Linked DNA regions of Homo sapiens: region 2 is linked to region 1. The links are contacts of gene promoters, found by promoter capture Hi-C in human tissues and cell types (Jung and others, 2019). All regions are on one chromosome and are shown on one strand. Each heading gives the region's core, a stretch centred on a gene start or on the middle of the fragment in contact. The rest is flanking DNA. Distances are from core to core; before and after follow the strand shown. Region 1 holds the start of COMMD8 (COMM domain containing 8). Region 2 overlaps GABRB1 (gamma-aminobutyric acid type A receptor subunit beta1).

The links. The method cuts DNA at HindIII sites, captures the fragments that hold promoters and counts their contacts. A contact is called where the count stands out against the background at its distance.
Region 2: a contact is called between a fragment that was not itself captured here and the fragment with the promoter of COMMD8 in region 1, in 1 of the 25 tissues and cell types used here (thymus).

Annotation. Positions count from the first base shown.
Region 1 is chr4:47,461,761-47,465,871 of GRCh38, forward strand. It overlaps COMMD8 (COMM domain containing 8), which reads right to left and starts at 1,942. Exons shown (of 5, transcript NM_017845.5): 1 at 1,826-1,942. The coding sequence starts at 1,891. LOC107986277 (a long non-coding RNA gene) reads left to right here and starts at 2,123. Exons shown (of 3, transcript XR_001741683.3): 1 at 2,123-2,191. RefSeq lists a silencer at 1,673-1,932 and an enhancer at 3,581-3,630. The HindIII fragment of the contact is 7,884 bases long and covers 227-4,111 here.
Region 2 is chr4:47,130,198-47,134,412 of GRCh38, forward strand. The region is part of intron 3 of GABRB1 (gamma-aminobutyric acid type A receptor subunit beta1); the gene reads left to right. Among named protein-coding and RNA genes, the nearest start is that of GABRB1, 100 kb to the left of the region's middle. The HindIII fragment of the contact is 4,621 bases long and covers 1-3,670 here.

The DNA.
Region 1 (4,111 bases), core at 692-3,191:
ACTCTGAAGTAACCATTGTTATTATTTCTATTTTACAAATGAGGAAACTGAGAATAAATAAGGCCCTACCATAACAGAGCTTTAGTCCATTCGAAAAAGGCAAACATACAAATACATGTAATTTAGAATGATGGGGCCATAATAAAAATATATACAAGGTACGAAGGAGCACAGAGAGGAAGCAAGGAAAAGTCCATCTTAAAAGGATGAGTAGTTGGCCAAGCAAAACAGGAGAGAAGAAGTGCATTTCTAGACACAAGCAAGTTATTTTGGGGGGTGCCTAGGGGGTGACAGGAGACAAGGCTGGAGAGGTGGGTGGAGCCAAATCAAAAAGGGCCTTGTGTACAAAGTAAAAGAGCCTAGACTTCAATCTGTGCTCAACCGGGAAGCAACCTATTCACACATTTGCATTATTTTTCCATATATTTGCTAACAGGTTGGAAGATGTAAGAGAGAGGGTGAGCCCAGATGCCTCAATTTTCAGTTAAGGAGTTAAAGATTAAGGGGCTTAAATTGTTGAGGACACTCAAAATGGAGGCAGTAAAGAGGTAGAAGAGATGTGAAAAGGGGGGGCCATGGATGAAACCTAGAACGTCAGGTTGAGAGGGGCTGGGTGAAAGTGGTGGTGCCACAAACCGAAAATGAGGCTACGGGAGGAGTAGGTCCAGGGGGAAAGAAGAGCTGAGGCAAGGGCATACTGAATTTGAGGTACCTGTGGCAGAAGCCTGACACTCAGGGAAGAGATTTTGGTTTGGGGTTTTTGGGGTTTTGTTTTGTTTTTTACCTGGCATTCTTGAACCATAGAGGAAGAAATTTTTGGCTGGACCTAAAGATTTAGAAGTCATCGACATATATGGTAATAAAGGTTATGGGCCTTATCTAAATGGGTAGAGTGAAGACAAGGAGAGCCAAAAGCCAATAAAACACTCAGAATCAACAGATCTGAGCATAAGTTCCAGCTCTGCCACTAACTGGATGGGCAATCCTGGGCAAGTTAGCCAAAATTTCTGCTGACATTTCAGGTTCCTCACTTGCAAAAACAAAGAAAAGAATTAGGTGTTTTTTTTTCTTGACCCTGGCAGGAGGTAAGTTCATTCCTTTCTGTCTCCTCCACACTTTCTCCAGTATAAATGGAATAGAGGAAACAGGAAGCCAAAATTGAGACTTATAAAAAAGATGCTCCACCAGGGCACAGGCTGTGTCTCACTCACCATTTACCTCATCCCATCGGGGCGCTCAATCTATGGTAGACTTCAATGAAAAACTGGCTGAACAAATGAATGTGGTTGCTTTTTCCAGATTCTTACAAGCCAGGTTCTTTTACAGACTGGAAGTCAATGGGTACATCACCTCTTGGGACGATCCTAACTAAAGTAACTCGCCCAGTTATTTCTCTTCCTACCAACCACCCTCAAGGGGGGAGGCAGGGTCCGCTTCGGTCTTTGTCACATTGTATTCCAGCACCTAGCTCTGTACCTGCTGTCCGGTAGGTAGGGAGCCTTTGGGAGGTTATGTGTTGAATGAATTAAGAAAACGTATACTAAGAGGCAGCAAACACCGACTTAAGCTTTCAAAGCCCAGTCTGGTGTGGGCGCTTCTGCGCGCAAAGCCCCTGGAGCTGCACCTCTAGGCTGGGGGTGGCGCCCCAAGCTGTCCTCCTAGGCTCCCCAGGGAAGGCGGGGACCAACCACCCGAAATCACGCCCCTTCCTCCTCCCTTCCCTAGGGAGCTTGCGAAGGCGTCCGGGTCGCACCCGGCCTGATCCGCACGCCGGGCTGTCGCGAATCCCAGGCCCCGCGCCGCTTCCCCCGGTACCCGCCCTCACCTGCGGGCCCAGCTCGGCCGGCAGCTTCTGCAGCCGCCACAAGGGCGTCCCCTCTTCCGGCTCCATCCCTGCGCGAAGCTGGGGCTTGGGTCACGTGTCAAGGCTGGCCGCTTGTCTAAAGCTACGACTCGCCCACGTGACTCTCGCCGGCGGGGAGGGGCGTGGACCCAAGAAGTCCCTGTGCGCTTGCGCAGAGACCGAACTACCGCTTTCCCCGTAACCAGGGAGACTGCAGTTTGCAGTGATGTGGCTAAGATACCCTTGTGCTATTAAAGGCACATTTACGTATCTTTCAACGCAGTTTGTACCTTTGTTTAGGGTTCTATTGAACTTTCTCTGTGCTCTTTAGAAAACCGTCGAATAAAGGTAACCATCTTTTTGGGTGCCTGGGCATGGTCATTGTCCCAGAGTTTTAACAGAAGTCTCTACTAAAGTATCCTGATTTGCAAGGTAAATTAAGGTTTTGCCATGAGCAACGTTCTGTATATAGATCATCCTAGGGAGAAGGTACTATTTTCAGCCCTATTTGCAGAAAGCAAACATGATTAGAGAAGTCACTAAGGTTGTCAGATTTAGCAAATGAAAATACCAAGCGTCCAGTTAAATGTGAAATTTCAGATAAACAATAATATTTTGTTGTAAGTATCCCCTAAATATTGTATGGGATATATTTATACTGAAAATTATTTGTCCATCTGAAATTCAAATTTAACTGGTGTCCTGTATTTTATCTGGCAACGCTAAAAATCACTGACCTAAGTAAGAGGCCCAGTCTGAAGTTAAACAAAATCAATCAGACTCAAGAGCCATGCTATTAATGTTGGACTAAGCTCAAAGTCCAAATATCCTTTCTGTTATTTCTTATTACAGCTGTTACTTTAATCAGGTGCTGAAGAATTCAGTGGTGGTAAAATGAGCATGTCCTGCAAAAGCGGATAATAATAACTAGTAGACCAGAAACAGGAATTACAATCTAATTTATAAATTTAATAATAAAAGTGGTGCAAAATGGTGAAGCAGAAGAGAAAGTATTCAATCTATGGGCTACGCAGAGAAAAACTACTCATTAGCAGCATTCTAGGTTTACCTCCTACGTCCTTTCTCTGTGTGCCTCAACTCTAAAAGGTGAAGTCAATTTCTTTCTCCCGTGAGTTTTCATGATATTTTAGCTGTCCCTCACTTATTTACCACTTTCTAGTTCTTAATGCAGATAGATGCACAACACTCATTGCCCTATCTTAAATGTAATTGTCTTAAGATACTTTGTGAATAGGAGCTCCCCTAGTAATAGTTAAAATGAGAAGTCTGGAAAACTACTTCACCTGAGTCTTTCTGTAAATCTAATGATGGGTAAGGTCTATTTTGAGAAAAAAACTTAAATTTTATGTATTATAATAATTGGGAGAAAAGTACTTTCAAGCATCTACTATATGTCAAACCCTTCATATATTTTTATCTTACTAATTCCTGCTACAGCCTTGTACAGTGGGTATTACAGATGAGGAAATGAACTTGAAGTAATATATTTTGTAAGGTCACATAGATAGTAGTTACAAAATCACTGGTCTGAGGCCAGAAACGGTGATCTCAGTTTGCATGCTTGACTACCCCTGCTGAGGAACTGAAATGATATGGCTTACCTAAGGCCACGTAACATGACTAAATAAGGTAAAATGACACACCTAACAGGGCCCAAGGTTTAGTCAGAGGACAGAGAATTAGGTCCTAACTCATCTTTCAAGCAACACTGAGTACTAAGAAGAATTTGATCTTTACTCTTGAATTTGGATGGGACAAAATTTAGCCTGCAACAAATATGGTTTCCAAAATAGTTAACAACTTGCAAGAGAGACAGCGCTTAATATTTGCCCTTTGATTAGTAAGAGGATGTTCTTATGTGTGTAATCCAAGAGGTTTTCAAAACATATGTCTGTCTCTTGTAGTTCCATCTCTATGAGGTATATTCTGGTCTCCATCTCCCAAATCTTATTTGTACTATAGCAATCTTTAAATGCATGAACTCTGGAGCTAAACTTCATAAGTTCAAACCCTGGCTCTGCAAATGACTATGTACTCTGGGCAAGCTATTTTCACTTCTCTGTGTTTCTCATTCCTTACAACAACCCTGTAAATTGTATAATTGGTTATAATGACAGCCTAGGATTTACAGGGTGGTTGTAAGTTGATATATGTGAAGTTCTTGCAATGAAGTCTGGCCTGGCACATAGAAAATTGTATTATATTCCCTTCTATGTGGACTTCTTTGCTCTACTGTTATCTAGCCAA
Region 2 (4,215 bases), core at 110-2,609, 330 kb before region 1:
CACTGTCTTCCCACTTCCTTCAGGATAAAGACCACAAGATTTAAGCAGTCTTGATTGGGCTGGCCCCTGCCCACCTCCACAGCCCCATACCACTGCACATTCCCCCATAATGTCTGGGCTCCAGATACTGTGTGTGTGTGTGTGTGTGTGTGTGTGTGTGTGTGTGTGTGTGTGTGTGTGTGCTTTCTTTTCCAGTTTAAGAAAATACAATGTTCCTGGAAAATTCAGCTCCTGGAAAATACAGTTCCTTCTCCAACCCAGCCTTTGCACAAGTTGTCCTTTCAGTCTGGAGCCCACTTCCCTCTTTTGCTGTATTTATTCTGGCTCTTCTCAAATATCCCTTATTTTTGAGAACCTCCTGACCATTTGCCTCCCCCCAGATTAGGAATGGTCAAATGCTCTTCTTATACACTTTTACAGAGGAATAGTACCTCTCTTTCATGACCCTTATTACATTTGTAATTTTATATTTAATTGTGTAATTATTAGATTAGTCATGTCTGTTCCTGCAGTAGGTCGCAGGGATCATGAGAGCAGGGATCTCATAACCTCCAAGCACCAAAAGGATAGGGACTGTATGATGTTTTATTTATTATTATATTTCCAGCTCTCAGTACAGTGCTTCACATATAGTAATAGCTCAATAAACATTTGTCCTTCAAGGGATTAAGTGCTATATCAAGAAAGCTGGTTACAAAGAAAGTTATTAATGTCCATTAGGTGAGCTTAAAAAGCACAAGTCTACTGAAGTTCAACCAGTCATCAAACTGACAAGTGGCATAAAACTAAAGCTGAAGTTTTGTTTATGGGTTTGCAAAACCATCTCTAAATATAACACACTGCCTTGATTTAAAGCCTCTGTGTGCTTACATTCACAAAAAGATTATATTGTTCCTACCCAGCCCTGGAAGAAAACTGAAGAGGCCATTCTATGAATGCTTAAGTCCAAACTTTCTTCTTCTGGAGAATTTTTTTTTTTTTTAACAGAAGCTTGCTCTGTAGTCCAGGCTGGAGTGCAGTGGCGCAATCTCGGTTCACTGCAACCTCTGCCTCCAAATTCAAGCGATTCTCCTGCTTCAGCCTCTCGAGTATCTGGGATTACAGGCACGTGCCACCATACCTGGCTAATTTTTGTATTTTTAGTGGAGATGGGGTTTCGCCATGTTGGCAGGCTGGTCTCGAACTCCTGACCTCAGATGATCTGCCCGCCTCGGCCTCCCAAAGTGCTGGGATTACCGGTGTGAGCCACCGCACCAGGCCGAGTCTTGTTTTTCTGAGTGCAATGTAGCCATTGCTGTAGATTGTATTAGGTTGGTGCAAAAGTAATTGTTGTTTTTGCTGTTTAAAATAATGGCCAAAACTGCAATTTTTTTTTGCACCTACTTAATATCATTGTCTCTTTCTGCAATGCTAGGGAGGCAGTGGGCATATTGGCCAGACTTTGAATGCAGAAAATATTCAATGATTTCAAATTGAATGATGCAATGTTACGATATGGTAAAAGAACCAATACCTGGGGTATTAGGGCCCAGTTTATATTTCTATTCTGCTACCAATTCTGCATGAATTTGTGCAAATTACTGAACATTTAGATTAGGATGATGATCAGAAATGATTTAAGAACTTTGTTTCTTTCTAATTGACAAGTAAAATATCTGAGAACCATTACTAATTTATCCAGTAGAGCAATATAATTTTTTTTTCATAGCTCCTAGAATCAGAATTTGATATTAATGTATTTTTTCCTTTATAATTTCAATTTGAAATTTAATTTGACAATCTGTTGACTACTGCCTCAGAAAGAAAGGTAGTTTAATGAATTTTCATGTTTTTTTAAACAGTTTTATTTGCTGTGATTTATGAAATCATTTATTTATTGGATATTTAAATGCAGGGGTATTGAAGAAGAATAAAAATCTATTCCTAACACACTGCATTGGGCTCATTTCACTAGAAAGCGTCATTCAGATTGAATTTCTCTCTCTTTTTTTACAGTTTTGTTTTCATTTTCTTGTTGAAAATATCAATCACTGTTTATGTTGTATGCTAACTTTCTTATTATTTTTCTATTGATGTGAGAGATACCATAATAACAAATATTCTCATCTTAGAATTACTGTTAAAACTCTCCAATGCCCTTGGGCTTGTTTACCATCTCTGTGAAGACGTTTTTTCGTTTGTTTGTTTTGGTTTGTTTTGGTTTGGTTTGGTTTGGTTTGGTTTGGTTTGGTTTGGTTTGGTTTGGTTTGGATTGCATCACTTTAAAAAAGCTTTAAGAGATATTTTTAGAGGATAGGATTTGTTTTTCCTTTTGTTTTTAGTTCAAGATGGCACCTGAGTCCACTCATTTATGTTCTCTACTCCTGAACAGTCAGTTAAAATGAACTTTTTATAAGGTACAATTGTATTGCAATGAAAAAAAGGACCAAGTGTGGAATACTCAACTGGAAATACTCAACAAATACTGGAAACGCTCAACGAATTTCTTGAACGAAGGAAAATAGATGGGTATTTGATGAAGCTGGAAGTGAATAGCCACAATCTAGAACGTGTTCAGAGAGCCCTACTGCTAAATAGTAAAACAGTGTGCCTGCCAGACCCAGAGAGTCTCCAGTGCAATCATGAGACATATCTAGAAATCCTTCAGAACACATCCCATCTTGCCTTGCATTTCTGCTTCCTCTGCTTACAGCATACTTCCCTTTAATATCTTCATGTCTTTCCTCATTTTGTTTAAATCCCTGCTCAAATGCTACTCTACCAAAGAGGTATCCCTGAAACACTTTAGCTAAACAAAACTGTCTCTTTTCTTTTTTTGAAACCCATCACTCTGTATCTATTCTACTATGTCTTAATTTTCTTCAGGATATACAGCATATTATGTTTTTATGTTTTAATTTGTTCAATATCTCTTGCAAAAGAAAGTAACCTTTACAAAAGCATTAAATGTATCTGTTTTGTTAAAATGTATATTCTCTAGCACCTTGAGCACAGCCTGGAACATTCAAACTACATAAATTTGTAGATTGACTCAGTGAATGGATGATTGAAATGTGATAGAAACTTCTGTATGTGACCTTCACTGCATCTGCATAATTCCCTATTACAATATTTAAAATATCTAGTCAGATATTCACTCCCAATTTGTCAGTGTGGGGAAACAGAGCACTCTAAATAATTAATAAAGGGTCAAAGCAAACTGTAGCAATGAATGTAGATATTGATGCCTTGGGCATGTGAAGTTTCTTCAATATAGTGGCTTCATTCTCATTAATTCCCCTATGTGTGCAAAGTTCCAGTCAGCTTATTTATTATTTAATTCAGTATCTAATCCAGGAGGACACATGGCAGCAGTGATCTTGTCTCTTTAACATAGAGCAGTTCATCAGTCTTTCTTTGTCTTTCATGACCTTAACATTTTTAAGAGACAGGCAAGCTATTTTATAGACCATCTTCCCATCTGAGTTAGTTTGACATTTCCTCATGATTAGATTCAGGTTACGTGTTTTTAGCAGGACTATCACAGAAATAATGCTGTGTTCTCACTGCATCCCATTTGAAGGTACATGATGTCAGATGTCCCATTACTGATGATGTGCTCTTTGATCATTTGGGTAATGTGGAGGCTTCCAGGTTTCTCTGTTATAAATTATAATTTTTCTTTCTGCGATTACTAAAGAATCCTTGACACTATTTAAATATCCTATTCCTCATCAAATTTTCATTCACTAGCTTTAGTTTGGAAATCTGGTATTTTACATGTTAAGAAGTAGAAAGAAAGTTTGGGAAAATACTAATCTTTCATTTTTATCTCAGTGTTTAAGAACTTTCAGTCAGTATCTTACCACTTCAAAATGATTAGAGGGAGACTGGAAACTACTGTTGTTGGTTTTGTATATGCATTGCTATTTATAAGTTTTAAAAAGTCTTTTCTTCTAGGTTTCCATTTAGTAATTTAGGATATTGCTACCAAAAGGTTGGCAATTAGTTGTCTCTAGTTGTACTCCACTGAATCATTACAAAGCTGAAAATAAAGGTTATGCTACAGTTTTTATTGGTACTTTGAAAAGAATTAGTGCTGTTTATCCCATCAGTACAAATGCTAGATAATTGCACCCTCTATTTACTAATAATTGGGGAGAGAAGTATATCACATAAAAGGTAAATAATCCACCCATAACTAGCTTATTAGAGAAAACACAAGAAAAACAAATA